Linked DNA regions of Homo sapiens: all the other regions are linked to region 1. The links are contacts of gene promoters, found by promoter capture Hi-C in blood cells and fetal thymus (Javierre and others, 2016). All regions are on one chromosome and are shown on one strand. Each heading gives the region's core, a stretch centred on a gene start or on the middle of the fragment in contact. The rest is flanking DNA. Distances are from core to core; before and after follow the strand shown. Region 1 holds the start of ERCC3 (ERCC excision repair 3, TFIIH core complex helicase subunit). Region 2 overlaps UGGT1 (UDP-glucose glycoprotein glucosyltransferase 1). Region 3 has its middle 10 kb from the start of SAP130. Region 4 overlaps SAP130 (Sin3A associated protein 130). Region 5 holds the start of WDR33 (WD repeat domain 33).

Region 1 (2,880 bases), core at 137-2,636:
CCATCATGTAGAAATTTCCTCAGCAAAATGTCCAAGCTTATCACTTATAAGTTCTACTTTCCACCCAACAGAATACAATTCAGGCAAGCTCTCTACCACTTGCCTCCAGTTTCAATAACATATTTCTCCTTTCCATCTGAGCCGTCACCAGAATCACCTTTAATGCCCATACTTCTACCAAGGCTCTTCAAGACAATAGAGGCTTTTCTATCATGCGCCTCAAAATTCTTTCAGCCTCTACCGATTACCCAATTTGAAAACCACTTCCCCATTGTTAGGTATTTGTTACAGCAGTACCCTATTCCCCGTACCAAAAATCTGTGTTACGTTCTCCAGAGAAACAGAACCAAGAGGCCCACTGAGCAAGCGAGATTGATTGATTGATTTTAAAGAATTGGCTCATGCAATTGTGGGGGTTGGCAAGTTGGGAATTCAGGTACGAGTTGATGTTGTAGTTTTGAGTCCAAAGGCTGGAAACTCAGTCAGAACTTTCTGTGTTGCAGTCTGGAGGCAGAATTCCTTTTTCCTTGAGAAACCTGTCTTTGCTCTTAAGGCCTTCAACTGATTTGGATGAGGCCCACCCGCATTATTGAGGGTAATCTGCTTTATTTAGGCTGAGACATGAGAATGGCATGAACCCGGGAGGCGGAGCTTGCAGTGAGCTGAAATCGCGCCACTGCATTCCAGCCTGGGCGACAGGGCGAGACTCCGTCTCAAAAAAAAAAAAAAAAAAAAGAAAAAAATTTTTTTTGAGACGAACTCTCGGCCTGTCGCCCAGGCTGTAGTGCAGTGGTGCAATCTCAGCTCAGTGCAGCCTTTACCTTCTGGGTTCAAGAGATTCTCCCATCTCAGCCTCCCAAGTAGCTTAGACTACAGGCGTGTGCCACCATGCCTGGCTACTTTTTTTTGTATTTTTCGCAGAGATGGGGTTTCACCATGTTGGCCAGGCTGGCCTCGAACTCCTGACCTCAAGTGATCCACCCACCTCAGCCTCCCAAAGTGCTGGAATTACAGGCGTGAGCCACCGTGCTCAGCCAAATTTTTTTTAATTAAAAAAAAGAATTCTTCCTTACCCATGGACTCAGGTCACATTCTCTCTCTCTCTCTCTCACACACACATTTATTGCCCACATGGCTTCATTAAAATTTAAGTTCCAGAAGGATGAGGCCTTTAATTCGCGCACTACACAGGTGCTCAACACACAGTATTTTCCTTCAGTTGTAGAGAAATGAACAGTGGAGGACCCCCGCCGCTGGGTCGCACGAGCTAACAGATCGGCGGTCGCTGGCTCTCCGCTCTTCCAGCCACCCACATCACGGCGCCTAGAGGCGGGACATCCTGTGTGGACAACAGGGAGCTTCCGGATTGAGCCGGAAGTCCCCCCAGAGCGGATGCCGCGGCGGGCCTGTGGGAGCGGGGTCATCTTCTCTCTGCTGCTGTAGCTGCCATGGGCAAAAGAGACCGAGCGGACCGCGGTGAGACGTTGCGCGGGCACGCTCAGCCACGACTGCCCTTGCCGGCCCTGCCCCCCGCTCTGCCTCGGAGCTGCTCCGGGCCTCTGCGCCGGCCGACCCTGCTGGCCCTCCCGCGCGCACCCCGTTGGGACAGGCCTTTGGGCGGGAGAGATGCTGGACCTGGGCGCAGCCCAGCGAACTCGGCCTAGGGGAGACGGGTGAGGGGCGCAACGCCTGCGGGATGCAGGTGGCTCTTAGCTAGGAGTTTGCGGCGGCGCAGGTGAAATGCTGCCAAGCGGTGCGGAGGGAACCCTGAAGGCTCCTGCTGGGCTTACTTCTGTGTTGGTATCTTGCAGACAAGAAGAAATCCAGGAAGCGGCACTATGAGGATGAAGAGGATGATGAAGAGGACGCCCCGGGGAACGACCCTCAGGAAGCGGTTCCCTCGGCGGCGGGGAAGCAGGTGGATGAGTCAGGCACCAAAGTGGATGAATATGGAGCCAAGGACTACAGGCTGCAAATGCCGCTGAAGGACGACCACACCTCCAGGCCCCTCTGGGTGGTAAGCATGCCCTTAGCTTGGGCAGGGCCCAGGAGTGTGCGGAGCGGCAGCTAAATCTTGGGCATCCTCAGAGTCAAAACTGACATTCAGGATACTGCCCCTAGAACTGGCCGGGAGAGAATTTTCATCCACACACGTTGGAACAGCCCAAGGCAACAGCGAGCAGTTGCGCACACGTGTGGCGGCCGGACCTGGGCTTCCAACAGCTCTAACCCCTCGGTTTACTCTCACTCCTTCCCCAGCCCTACCCCATGTAGTGAATCCTTTTATCTGCCGAATAAATAGCATTTATCATGTAACAGTTTGTTTCCTCAAATAATGGAAGACATGTTCGGTAGCAAGCTTTTGCTCTACTTTAAATAATTAATGTTATACATTTAGTTGAAATCTAGCCAAAAGGTAACTTGAGGATAGCCAGTAAGATGGGCTTTCTCTGTGCAGAATAGTAGGAAACAGCTGTTGACTTTGGAAACACTTTCTTCTATTTTTCTTTACTCTTCTGTATCTGATTAATGTAACAGGCCCCACAGTTGTCTGAAGGAGTGCTTGCAAGAATATCTGTGGTGTTGGGCAGCTTATTCTTTCTTGATAATGATATGGGCAAGAGCCCAGTAGTCTCTGCAACTCATGTTTCCTTGTCTGTTTTGTCCATTTGGTATCTCTCAGGCTCCCGATGGCCATATCTTCTTGGAAGCCTTCTCTCCAGTTTACAAATATGCCCAAGACTTCTTGGTGGCTATTGCAGAGCCAGTGTGCCGACCAACCCATGTGCATGAGTACAAACTAACTGCCTACTCCTTGTATGCAGCTGTCAGCGTTGGGCTGCAAACCAGTGACATCACCGAGTACCTCAGGAAGCTCAG
Region 2 (2,880 bases), core at 158-2,657, 810 kb before region 1:
CCCAAAAAAAAAAAAAATTATGATTTTACAAACTATATGATGTCTGGGATTTGCTTTAAAATATTCTAGTGCGGGAGGAGAGAAGGGGGTGGTGATGGTGGTTATTGTACTTAAATTGATAATTGTTAAAACAGGATGATGGGTACAGAGAGAGTACATTATACCATTCTCTCCATATATAAATGTTTTGAAATGCCATAATCCAGGACAAGTTTTTAATCTACAACACAAAAAAAACTACAAACAACCAGAATGAATGCCCACAAGATAGTACAAATCAGGTGACAACTTGTTTTCTTAGATTTCCAAAGCTATTGCGGGAGATCAGCATTGGTCTTCCTTCTATGTGGAACTAGGAGGGAAGAAACTAATATTTAAGGAGGCTCTACGATGTTACAGTCACTAAGCTTGGCATATTTACTCGTGTCCGCAAACCCACACAGCCACCCTCAGATATAACCGTTTTTCAAATAAAGAAGCTGCCATTCAGAGATGCTACTGACTTTCTTAGGGACATAGAGTTAGTCAATGGAAAAGCTGGAATATAAATTCATGTCTATTTAATTTATACCTCTAACATGCTACATTCTTGGGTCATTACAAAATTTAGCACTCAGTAAATGATTATTGGTTTTGATTTTAATAATACCTCCTTATATAATATTTCTGTAGCTACAGCTGCAGAAAACATATTTAGTGTTTTACTTCAATTAAAGATAAATATCACTTCATAGACAATCACAAAGCTACAACTCCTTCACAAACATCAGGTCCAATCTAAAAATACACAACAGGAATATTTTTAGTCCCTAAGGGATAGATGCAAGGAAGGCAAAAGATCTGTGGTGGTGGCATGCCATAAAGTGTAGTAAAATATTTTGACCCTTCATCCTTAACCAGATGGACATAGTACCTTGATCCAACATCAGGGTCTCCCACAGACATAAGAAGGAAGAATGGTGGGCTCTGCTAGCTCTGGAGGTGAATACTAAGTGGATTCTAATAAGCATAGCTCATTTCTATGAGTTGCCTACATGTCGTATTACCTTGGGAAACTGTATACAAATAGCCACAGGAGAAGGGGCCTAAAAATAGTAAACCAAAAGGGCAAATGTAGCTCTTACTTCACATGCCAAGGAAAAAAATTAATAAAAATAAAACAAAATGGCAAATGACCAGGGATATCATGAAAGGGGGAGATGTCTGTGATAAGGAAGTTGGTGAAGAAAACAGTATACCCTGTCCACTTCACAGTGATCAAAGAAACTGAAAATATTGAGCAATTAGGGCTGGCAATTTTAGCATTCTTTCTCAAAAGTCCATAGTTTTATGCTGTAAGAATCTTCTAGGACAATGATCAAGAATGTACAACTATCAAGAAATTAGTGTAAATAAAAGTGAAAGTAACAAAATGTAATTCAGGGTAAGAATGTTAAACAGAGGCCTGGCGCGGTGGCTCACACCTGTAATCCCAGCACTTTGGGAGGCCGAGATGGGTGGATCACCTGAGGTGGGGAGTTCCAGACCAGCCTGACCAACATAGAGAAACTCCATCGCTACTAAAAAAAAAAAAAAAAAAAAATACAAAATTAGCCGGACTTGGTGGTGCATGCCTGTAATCCCAGCTACTCAGGAGGCTGAGGCAAGAGAATCGCTTGAACCTGGGAGGCAGAGGTTGCGGTGAGCCGAGATCACGCCATTGCACTCCAGCCTGGGCAACAAGAGCGAAACTCCATCTCAAAAAAAGAATGTTAAACAGAATATCACAAAAACACCTGTTACAGTTAATTGTACAAAATGATTCAGAAAGTGATAGTAAATCTTGGCCAGGCCCGGTGGCTCACGCCTGTAATCCCAGCACTTTGGGAGGCCAAGGAGGGCAGATCACCTGAGGTCAGGAGTTCAGACCAGCCTGGCGGCCAACATGGTAAAACCCCATCTCTACTGAAAATATAAAAATTAGCCAGGCATGCTGGCACACGCCGGTAATCCCAGCTACTTGGGAGGCTAAGGCAGGAGAATGAGAATGGGCTTGAACCTGGGAGGCAGAGGTTGCAGTGAGCCAAGATGGCGCCACTGAACTCCAGTCTGGGTGACAAAATGAAACTCTGTCTCAAAAAAAATAAGTAGGGTGGGGGGGGGGGTTGTAAATCTCAATGACAGATTTTATACCAAACAAATCATCCAAAATAAGATTAGCAAAAAGGAAAAGAAAAACTTTAGTTTTTAGAGTCCAGCTCAGGCAGTCCAGCTCAGGCAGTCTCAAAATATCTTCAGTCACTGCTTTTTTGTTTGTTATTTGCTTTGTTGGGCTTTTTTCCCCCATAATAAGAACTCTTAAAAAAGAGCCACTTCACTTTTACAACTATGCTGTATCAAATAAAGTTCTGACATTTGACAAGCTTGACCCATTTATCAAGTTAGTTATCACCATGAAATACATACAATGGTTTTGTCTTTGTTTTGCCACTTCTATGCTGAGAAAGAAAGGCAGAGAGAGGCGATGGAAGGAAGTCTATTTAGCAGAAAGTCTGCTAGGCTCCTGAGCTAGCCAAGACCGGCTGCCACATGCCCCCTCCCACTGGTCCTTTTAGCAGTATCAAATGAGGCTTTTTCCTTAAGAGGTGCAACCATTCGTTCACACAATCAACATGGCAAAATTCTTCATCCACATTTTTCTAGGAATTAAGGGGAAAATGTTAGAATACAAAATTCTAGAGGCCAGGCATGGTGGCTCACACCTGTAATTCCACCACTTTGGGAGGCCAAGGCAGGTAGATCACTTGAGCTCAGGAGTTCCAGACCAGCCTGGCCAAGATGGTGAAAGCCCATCTCTATAAAACATACAAAAATAAGCCAGGGGTAGTGGCTCACACCTGT
Region 3 (2,880 bases), core at 98-2,597, 740 kb before region 1:
CACACCTTTGCAGGGACTCTGGTTGCCGTAAACACACAGCTGGGCTGAAGTGGGCAATGCCGGGCGCAAGAGCCCTCCAGAGTGGTCCCTCAGCCAACCTGTCCCAGCCGCCCAGCTTGCAGCCGAACTTGCCTTTCTTCCTCTTTCCTTGCCAGCTTCACAGTCATGCCGGGATGGGGTAAAAGGACAAGCTTTTATCTACTTTAAACAGTCATGCCACACTGCCAACACAGTTTTCAAAGCATTATAGCCTTCAAAGAGATCCTTTCTTCCTTTTCTAATTTTAAGTTCGAAGGCTTCGCTTTTTGGTGCTCTTTATATGGCTTGGAAAGTGGGGGCCTAGGCTCTTTATAGGTTCTCGCCCCCTGAGTACTGTGTGGTACGGTTGACAGCAGAAGTTTTGCCTTCTGCTTTGTCTGTTGTTTCTTTTCGTCCCTTCTTACGTACACTTTTGAGTCTCCCTAAGAAGTTTACTCATGGGACGGTTTTTCCAATTTTCTATCTTTTGTAATTTCTTTGAAATATCTGTCCAACTGTTAGTAAGAAAATGAAGTTTTAACATTCCCTGCCCAAGAGGATCCTCGAGATCTAGACCTGCATACTTTCTCATTTGTTCTTTTAATCTGTCTAAAAATTCTATAGGCCCTTTATCTTTCCCTTGCTGAATATGAAATGCCTGGGTAAGATTCTAGGTTCAGGGTACTGATTTTTAATTCCTTTTATTATCATTTCCCTAAGGTCTTGCATATTTTCTTGGTGGGCTGCATTGTTATTGTCCAACCAGGGGTCTTGGGAGGGGAATTTTTGATCTGCTGCAGGAACGTTTTGGCCAGGAGGGTGTTCACGTTCCCAGACTACCATAGCAGCTCTACGAATGATGCTTCTTTCTTCTCCTGAGAAGAAGTTGCCTAGGATGGACATTAGCTCAGCCTAAGTATGTAACTGTGGTCCTAGAAAGTGGTCAATTTGGTTTGCTACCCCGTAAGGGTTGTCTAATAGTGGCTTAAGCTCTCTTTTTAGGTTTTGTACTTCTGAGCTGGTTAAAGGAGCATTTACAAAGCCAATGCCTCCTCCTCCTAGGGGCACCTCCCTCAAGGGGAAGAGAGCTGGAGCTGATTCCCCTAAGGCAGAGGGGAAGGGAAAGTTTGGGGAAGTTTTGAATATCTTTTTTACATTTCTCTATTTCACGTTGAAGTCCCTTTAGGGAAGGGTACTTAGGCTGGTAGTGATTGGGCTCTTGGGATGATTCCCAAGAGGCAGGGTTATAAGGAGGGGGAACAACGGGGGTAGGAGAAGGGTCTGGGACAGCAGCTGCTTGAGGGGGAGGAAAGTTAGGAGTGTTTGGTGGGGGAAGGTGATTTAGCAGGTCCGAGGTGTAGATTGCTTGGGGTTAAGAGTTTCAGTTTCCTTAGGGGAAACATTCTCTGGCTTACGCTTATCTTTTAGAGTTTTGGGGGGTAGAGAAGAACAGGTCCTTGTCACCAAAACAAGGCATAATCTATCTCTTCTTGGGAAACAAGACTCTTGATATTAACATGTTCTATTAGAAGCTGACAAATCCAGTACTCATTTGACCCAAATTTTGTCCACAAAACTGAGGGTTTGAGGATTGGTTCCTGGGTCCAAATAAAACTATTTTATCATTCGTTGCTTTATCTTATGCTTAGTCCTTTATTATCTTTCAAATACTTTAACATGAGACCTAAGGGACTATCAAGGGGAATATCATTGCTGTTAGGTTTATCCTTTTTACTTCCTGTCTTACTTGGGGTATTTCCAATCTTGATGGTTTTGGGGTGAACCTTAACTTCCCCTACTGGAAATTTTTTTGCCTTCCCTAATACTAGAGGTTTGTGTGAGGCTCAGTGCCCCCTACTGGAGATTTCTCACCTTTCCTTTCTTCTAGAGGCTCAATGCCTCGTATTAGGGATTTCTTGCCTTCCTTTTCTCTAGAGGCTCAACCCTCCCTGGTGGGGGCTTCTTGCACTCTTTTCCTTTCATTTCATCCTCTCTGGCCACTTCCCCAAAGGGAACATCGGGTCCCTCTTAACGTTGGCGAATCAGTATAAACCCCTGATGGGACCCTCGAAAGGCCGCCATATGAGGTGACCATGGAACCACAGATTGAACTCAACTCACTCTGCACGCTAGTAGTGCTTATTCACACACTTACAGCTTTCAACCTCCAAGATCTCCCAACAATCAAGGAAATACGTTGTCAACCCAGTAATGTTTCTTACCTTGGTCTGTGCACAGAGTTACCTGGTTGCCATGGTATATGATGATCTTTTTCTTTTTTTTTCCCAAGTTGTTGGTCTGTTTTTTCCTGCATTGCTGAGAGTCCAGGTTTATTCGTCACACCAGGTGGGTCTTGATTCCTTACCCCTGAGTCCACTGCAATGAGGCAGCAGGGCACACCTCCTCACAGGAGAGGACTGGACCCTTCCCCAGAGGAGAATGGGAATCCTGGACGAACCCCCAAATTTGTTAGAAACAAGCTTCAGTGCTGCAAAAGAAATAGCACTCAAACAGAAATTTTCTCAGCAAGGCAAATTTACTTCCGCAGAAGTGTGCAGCTTGCGCCAGTCACGATTGCAAGAGCACACTGAGCAGGGTGGGGCAGGGGTTTTTATCCCTAATGCAATTGGTTCCTACTGCTGTGTTCTGTCTTCATTGGCTGGGGTGGGACCGCACAGTCTAAACTGACCTGATTGGCTAATCTTTGAAATTGAACACAGCTATCTAGGTGGGAAGGGGAAGGCTATCCTTTATGACATAATGCATGTCTAGGCCTGTCAGGCATGTCAGGGTGCAGCAAGGGTGGGATGAGTTGTTTACAGCATGGGCAACTATAGAAACCAGAGAAACAAAGAACTGGAA
Region 4 (2,880 bases), core at 140-2,639, 720 kb before region 1:
TTAGCGTCAAGAACTGCCTTCCGGGGGTAGGCAGTGCTGCTCTGTGGTTTCTCTGAGGAGAGCAGATGTGCATCTCTTGGGATAGGTTACCTCAAGCAGCTCTCTAGTTCCAAACTTTTTTTTTTTTTTTTTTGAGACAGAATCTCACGGTGTCACCCAAGCTGGAGTGTAGTGGTGCAGTCTTGGCTCACAGCAACGTCCACGTCCCGTGTTCGAGCCATTCTCTTGCCTCAGCCTCCCGAGTAGCTAGGATTACAAGCGGGCACCACCACCCCCAGCTAATTTTTTTATTTTAATAGAGACGGGGTTTCACCATGTTGGCCAGGCTGGTCTCCAACTCCTGACCTCAAATGATCTGCCCGCCTCGGCCTCCCAAAGTGCTGGGATTACAGGCATGAGCCACCGCACCCAGCCTTAGTTGCGAACATTTATTCTGAAGTCTTCTGTTTTAAGGTTTTTTTGTGAAATTTTGCAATCCTACTCTGCTGTGTACCTGATTAATTAAATATTTTACATTTTTTACCTGGGGAAAAAAACTAAATCTAAAAACTTTCCCTTCACATTTTCAAGAAAAATTTATATCCCAAAGAGGTGTACTGTGTTTTTTCCTTTTGTCATACTGCTGAGTACTCTCAGAAGTACCAGAACCCTTAGCTGAGAAGCCCTGAACTCTGTGGTTTGGGAGAATGTAAGGGACATTTCAGGGTTGAGCTGAAGAACTGGTAGGGAGCACCTGTTGGATACCAACTGACATTTACTTAGAAACAAAAAAGCTTAAAGAATGGATGGATGCAGTGGTATGTAAAGGAAATAGTGAGAATGGGAAAAAAAATAAGCATTTGGCCAGAACAGGGAAAACAAGTGTGAAAGGTAATATCGCAGATGAGAGTTTCTAAACGTAGATATCGAAGTATATTATCTGTAATTATGTGGGCCTGCAGCAGTTGTGGGGTCCTCATACTTCTCACATGCCTGTTAGCACAGTTCATTGTACGGTATGGCATGTAAAAGTAGCTCAAGCTGAATGTCCTTAGCCCTTTCTCTTGGGATACTCACTATCTAAAAAACAACCTGACCCACATTTGGAGGCAGGTGACTTCCTAGAGGCAATGGCTAAGAGCAAACATGTAAAAATAACGTTCTATCCTCTTTCTTTCAGGGCCATCCCAGTAACCTGCATCACATCATGACTACAAATGTGCAAATGTCTATCATCCGCAGCAATGCTCCTGGGCCCCCTCTTCACATTGGAGCTTCTCATTTACCTCGAGGTAACGACTTGCAAGTTTTGTTCAAACTCTCAAAATGTAGTAGTAGATATACATTTGGTAAAATACGTAACACAGAATGTATCTAGAATCAGCTTGTTAAAGTTGCAGAACAACAGTCTGCAGAACCGTGAACCAAATAAACCTCTTTTATTTAAAAAGAAAAAAAGGCCAGGTGCTGCGGTTCATGTCTATAAACCCAACACTTTGGGAGGCTGAGGTGGTAGGTTCACTTGAGTCCAGGAATTTGAGACCAGCCTGGGCAACATGGCGAAACCCTGTCTCTACAAAAATACAAAAAATTAGCCAGGTGTGGTGGCATGCGTCTGTAGTCCCATCTACTCAGGAGGCTGAGATGGGAGGATGGCACTCAGGAGGCTGAGATGGGAGGATGGCACTCAGGAGGCTGAGATAGGAGGATGGCACTCAGGAGGCTGAGATGGGAGGATGGCACTCAGGAGGCTGAGATGGGAGGATGGCTTGAGCTCGGGAGGCAGAGGTTGAAATGAGTTGAGATTGCGCCGCTGCACTCCAGCCTGGGTGACAGAGCGAGAACCTGTCTCAAGAAAAAGAAAAAAAATCGCAAGACAGTAGAAATAAACTTAGAGCAATCCATGTTTTTAGCATGGTTTAATATGTGCTTATTATAGTTGTATTACAAGTGTGTATATTTATGCAATTAAAGTGTTTAATATGGTCTAAAATTGTCCTATATATTGAGGAACTGCCCAAGCTTTGATAATCTCAACATGGTCTTTATTATTAGACTGCTTATCTGCAACATGGTCTTTATTTTTAATACATAAGTCACAAATATTAATACTGAATATTTTTAAAGTTCAGTGATGATCTTTACTCAGTTTTTTAACTTATGTAACAATAAAATGATGATGATAATTATTTTTTGAGATGGGGCCTCACTGGGTTACCCAGGCTGGTTTCAGATTTCTGGGGCACAAGCGATCTTCCCACTTTAGCCTCCTGAGTGGCTGGGACTACAGGTGTGAGCCACCACATGGCTAAGATTAATTTATTTTTACCCTTAAGTTCTAATAGGTTGTGAGGTAATAAATGAATTTTGACTAGAAATTTTTACCTTTTATTGGAGACTTTACAACAATTGGAGATTGTTGGCAAAATCAAGTTAGCAAACGCAAGACCAGGTTTGCTTGGTTATAGCATAACTCAGCAGTTCTCCAAATGTGGTTCACAGGCCCTTATGGGGGTCTGCAGGGTGAAAAGTGCAGGGTTAGGTTTAAGGTTAAGGTTCATAATGTGTCCCTTTGGCAATGTCGACGTCTGCTCTAATGGAACAAAGACTGGAAGGCAAAGTGTCCGAGCCTCGTCAGAGCTGAGGCAGTGGCATCACACTGCTGTTCCCTGTGTGCTTTACCACTGTGCACACTTGCAGTTAACAGAAACAAAAAACAGCAGCTAGTTTCACTTAAGGTTGTCTGTGAAGAGGCAATATAAATTATTATTAAATCTCTTGAATACACATTTTCTTTGTTTTCTCTGTGATGAAATGGGAAGTATACATACCATACTTCAGCTCGATATTGACATGCTATCTGAGTTTTGGGAAACATACTGATTATTTTCCCAGGGAATA
Region 5 (2,880 bases), core at 270-2,769, 520 kb before region 1:
TGATGGCTTAGCTTGGGCTCTGAGGCCTGACAGTCTCTACTAAAATTAGCTGGGTATGGGTGTCCTGGTACAGGTCATTAGTCTGAGCTACTAGGGAGGCTGAGGTGAGAGGATCACTTGAGCCCGGGAGGTTGAGGCTGCAGTGAGTTATGATCACCCTGGGTGAGAGACCTTGTCTCTAAAAAAAGAAAAAATATAGAAGTTTATAAACATTTCTGATGTTATCATAAAAACTTTAGATACTGTGTAATGTCTGCATGATAGTCTACGTATGGATGTGCCATTATTTAATCACTGTCTGCTACTGTTTCCTTTTTTTTTTGCTATCATTAATACCTCAAAGATTAGTACACAAATCTTACTCACATCTCTGAGGCTATCCTTAGAATAGATTTTTGGAAGGGGATTATGGAGTCAAAAGTAAGACTTCTTTGAGACAGGGTCTTACTCTGCTTCCAAGACTTAAGTGCACTGGCACGATCTTGGCTCACTGCGCCCTCCAACTCCTGGGCTCAAGTGATCCTCCCACCCCAGTCTCCCAAGTACCCATCACAGGAACGATCACAGGAAGGCGGTCACAGGAACGCACCCCGACGCGCAAAGATGGGATCTCGCCATGTTCCCCAGGCTGGTACGATTCCTGATTCATACTGGAGAACAACTTGCTGTGCAGTTATATTTTGAACCTCATCAAAATGGAATCATACAGCGTCCTCTTCTTTGTGCCTAAGTTAACAGTAGCTGCTATTCGTTCAGGCTGTTGCGTTTATCCGTAACTTCCTATTTCTCTGTAGAAATCCACTGTATGATACACCACAATTTAGCCACTCAACTGCTGATGGACATTTAGGTTACCAGTTTTTTACTACTACGAATAAACGTGCTATGGACATTCTTGCACATGCCTTTGGTGGACGTATGCACTCATTCCTCTTGAAGTGAAATTTCTGGGGTCACAAGGTAAGCGTACATTTAGCTTTGGCAGAAACTGCAGCGGTTTTCCAAAATGGTTGCATCGTGGGGCTGTTTTTCTATCTTGGTCGCTGGACTTTAAGCGAGGCGTAATCTAGAGGCACAACTGGCTCGGGTAAGGCGTGGAGCCTGACTGTGTGCCGGGATCTGCCAGGGCTGCCACCAGCTAGCTGCACGGGTGAACAGACTCAGCAAGGTGCCACAGTGGCTTCCCACAGATCCACTCTCGGTGGGCTCGGTCCAACGACCCGCTATGTCTGCCGTACTGGCCCCGTACAAATATACTCATTCACATACTGGAAAACGGGGTGTTTTTCAGAGCATACACGTTAGCTCACACTGTAAAAAAAAGTCAGCACTGCGAAACGCAGTCGCTTCTTTCCTCCAGGAGGTAGCGCGTCCTACTCGCTCCGGAACAAAGGAAGCGCTCTGCAGGGTCTCGCGGCTCGGCACCTCACCTAGGCACATGCGCAGATCGAACCTCACAGAGGCCCGCGGTCCAGGCGCGCGTGACGTAGCGCCGTCCCGCCAGTGCGTGATGACCCCAGAGCGTGCGTTCGGTGGCCCATAGGGGAAGATGGCGGCTGCTCCTTTGGAGGAGCGGGATTGAGAGGATCGGGGTGGGGAGACCAAACAAGAGAGACATTTCTGGCTCTGAAGGCGAACGCTTCGCTGGCCATTTAGGAGCTCTGCTCAAAGCCAGACGGTGAGTGCGGCGGCGACACGGGACTGCTCGCCTGCAGCAGGCAGCGGCACTCTCCGCCATTTTCGGGCTCGGCCGTTGCGTGCTTTGGGGGCCTGGACGGGCGCCTGGGCACAGGTTGGAGGAACTGGGAGAATCGACCTCGGGGCGGCTGTTCGAGGCAGGTTCGAGACTTATGGGAGGGGGCTGGAGGCTGGAGGCCAACCGGGAAAAGCGGCCATGGTTAGAACTAAGGCCCTGACTGGGAGCGGTGGCGACGAGAAGACGTAAGTCAGGCCACAGTTAAGACGTGAAGTTTGGAGGGAAATGCATTTTAACTGAGGTTTGGGGCGGGAGTGGAAAGAAGTGGGCCGAGTTGAAGTAGTTGGTTGAAAGGGTCAAGGGAAGTTAACGTGAAATCTGCAAAACAGCTGAAGACTTAGCCGTGATGTTATCGTGGCTTGAAATCGGTGCTTATTATAAGGATGAGGCTACAGCTTGACAGGCAAAGCCCTGCTTTTTTGGAATAGTTGTATTTCTATTTGGTTTGTGCTAGATCCCTGTTTCTGATTTTAAGTTGTCTTCTGGCAACTAAGTAGTGAGGATCTTAGCATGCCTTCTTAAAAGAAATGACAATGAATGTTTGTACTTGGTTGTAACCCTTGGGATTAGTGGCCCCTTCCGGAGTAAGGAGGAGGCGGCGGCGGCAGGTCGGTAGGGAATTCCGTAATTGGATCTATTTAAATCAAATCAGAAAAATACGGGCTACTTGTAGAAAGCCTGTCAAGAATGTTTTAAAGTAGTTTCTACACACATGATCTTAAGTTGACTGTTCAGGAACTTTGGAAGACATTAGAATATGAACAAAAAGCCTGCACTGAAAGGAACAACTCTGGGGAGCGTAGACTTTACTTTTTTAGTACACTCTGGAGAGCTAATGCATGCTATATATACATATATATGTGTATATATGTGTGTGTGTATGTATATATAGCCTGTGAATATGGTGCAGTGGTAAACCTACTTAATTCAAACCTTTTAGTGACAGTTATGCTAGTTGTACCTCTTGTGGCATTTTTCATTTCCTCGCCTTAATTGCATTTTACCCATTTTTTATTACTGTAAGATACTTTTGCTTTTTTTGTCTCCTTGACCGGGAGAAGATAAAATATTGTATAGATTTGAGTTTTTGCTGAGACTTGAAGTTCCATATTTAGACTATCTTC

Evidence for each region. The method cuts DNA at HindIII sites, captures the fragments that hold promoters and counts their contacts. A CHiCAGO score of 5 or more calls a contact.
Region 2: a contact is called between a fragment that was not itself captured here and the fragment with the promoter of ERCC3 in region 1, in 2 of 17 cell types (total CD8 T cells and activated CD4 T cells). The highest score is 5.9, in total CD8 T cells.
Region 3: a fragment that was not itself captured here is called in contact with the fragment with the promoter of ERCC3 in region 1 in 1 of 17 cell types (naive B cells); the score reaches 5.8 in naive B cells.
Region 4: a fragment that was not itself captured here is called in contact with the fragment with the promoter of ERCC3 in region 1 in 1 of 17 cell types (total CD8 T cells); the score reaches 5.1 in total CD8 T cells.
Region 5: the fragment with the promoter of WDR33 here is called in contact with the fragment with the promoter of ERCC3 in region 1 in 6 of 17 cell types (non-activated CD4 T cells, naive CD4 T cells, activated CD4 T cells and 3 more); the score reaches 8.9 in non-activated CD4 T cells.

Annotation. Positions count from the first base shown.
Region 1 is chr2:127,292,650-127,295,529 of GRCh38, reverse strand. ERCC3 (ERCC excision repair 3, TFIIH core complex helicase subunit) reads left to right here and starts at 1,386. Exons shown (of 15, transcript NM_000122.2): 1 at 1,386-1,476; 2 at 1,812-2,017; 3 at 2,684-2,880. The coding sequence starts at 1,449. The HindIII fragment of the contact is 2,323 bases long and covers 39-2,361 here.
Region 2 is chr2:128,099,283-128,102,162 of GRCh38, reverse strand. All of the region lies in intron 2 of UGGT1 (UDP-glucose glycoprotein glucosyltransferase 1), which reads right to left. Among named protein-coding and RNA genes, the nearest start is that of UGGT1, 9.5 kb to the right of the region's middle. The HindIII fragment of the contact is 1,995 bases long and covers 410-2,404 here.
Region 3 is chr2:128,036,864-128,039,743 of GRCh38, reverse strand. No RefSeq gene overlaps it. Among named protein-coding and RNA genes, the nearest start is that of SAP130, 10 kb to the right of the region's middle. The HindIII fragment of the contact is 2,307 bases long and covers 194-2,500 here.
Region 4 is chr2:128,013,194-128,016,073 of GRCh38, reverse strand. SAP130 (Sin3A associated protein 130) reads left to right here. Exons shown (of 21, transcript NM_001330301.2): 5 at 1,160-1,271. Among named protein-coding and RNA genes, the nearest start is that of SAP130, 13 kb to the left of the region's middle. The HindIII fragment of the contact is 1,228 bases long and covers 776-2,003 here.
Region 5 is chr2:127,809,810-127,812,689 of GRCh38, reverse strand. It overlaps WDR33 (WD repeat domain 33), which reads left to right and starts at 1,519. Exons shown (of 22, transcript NM_018383.5): 1 at 1,519-1,678. It overlaps LOC124907885 (a long non-coding RNA gene), which reads right to left and starts at 1,439. Exons shown (of 2, transcript XR_007087230.1): 1 at 547-1,439; 2 at 1-178. RefSeq lists enhancers at 1,218-1,287, 1,558-1,847, 1,868-1,947, 2,028-2,107, 1,514-2,454 and 1 more. The HindIII fragment of the contact is 7,008 bases long and covers 1-2,880 here.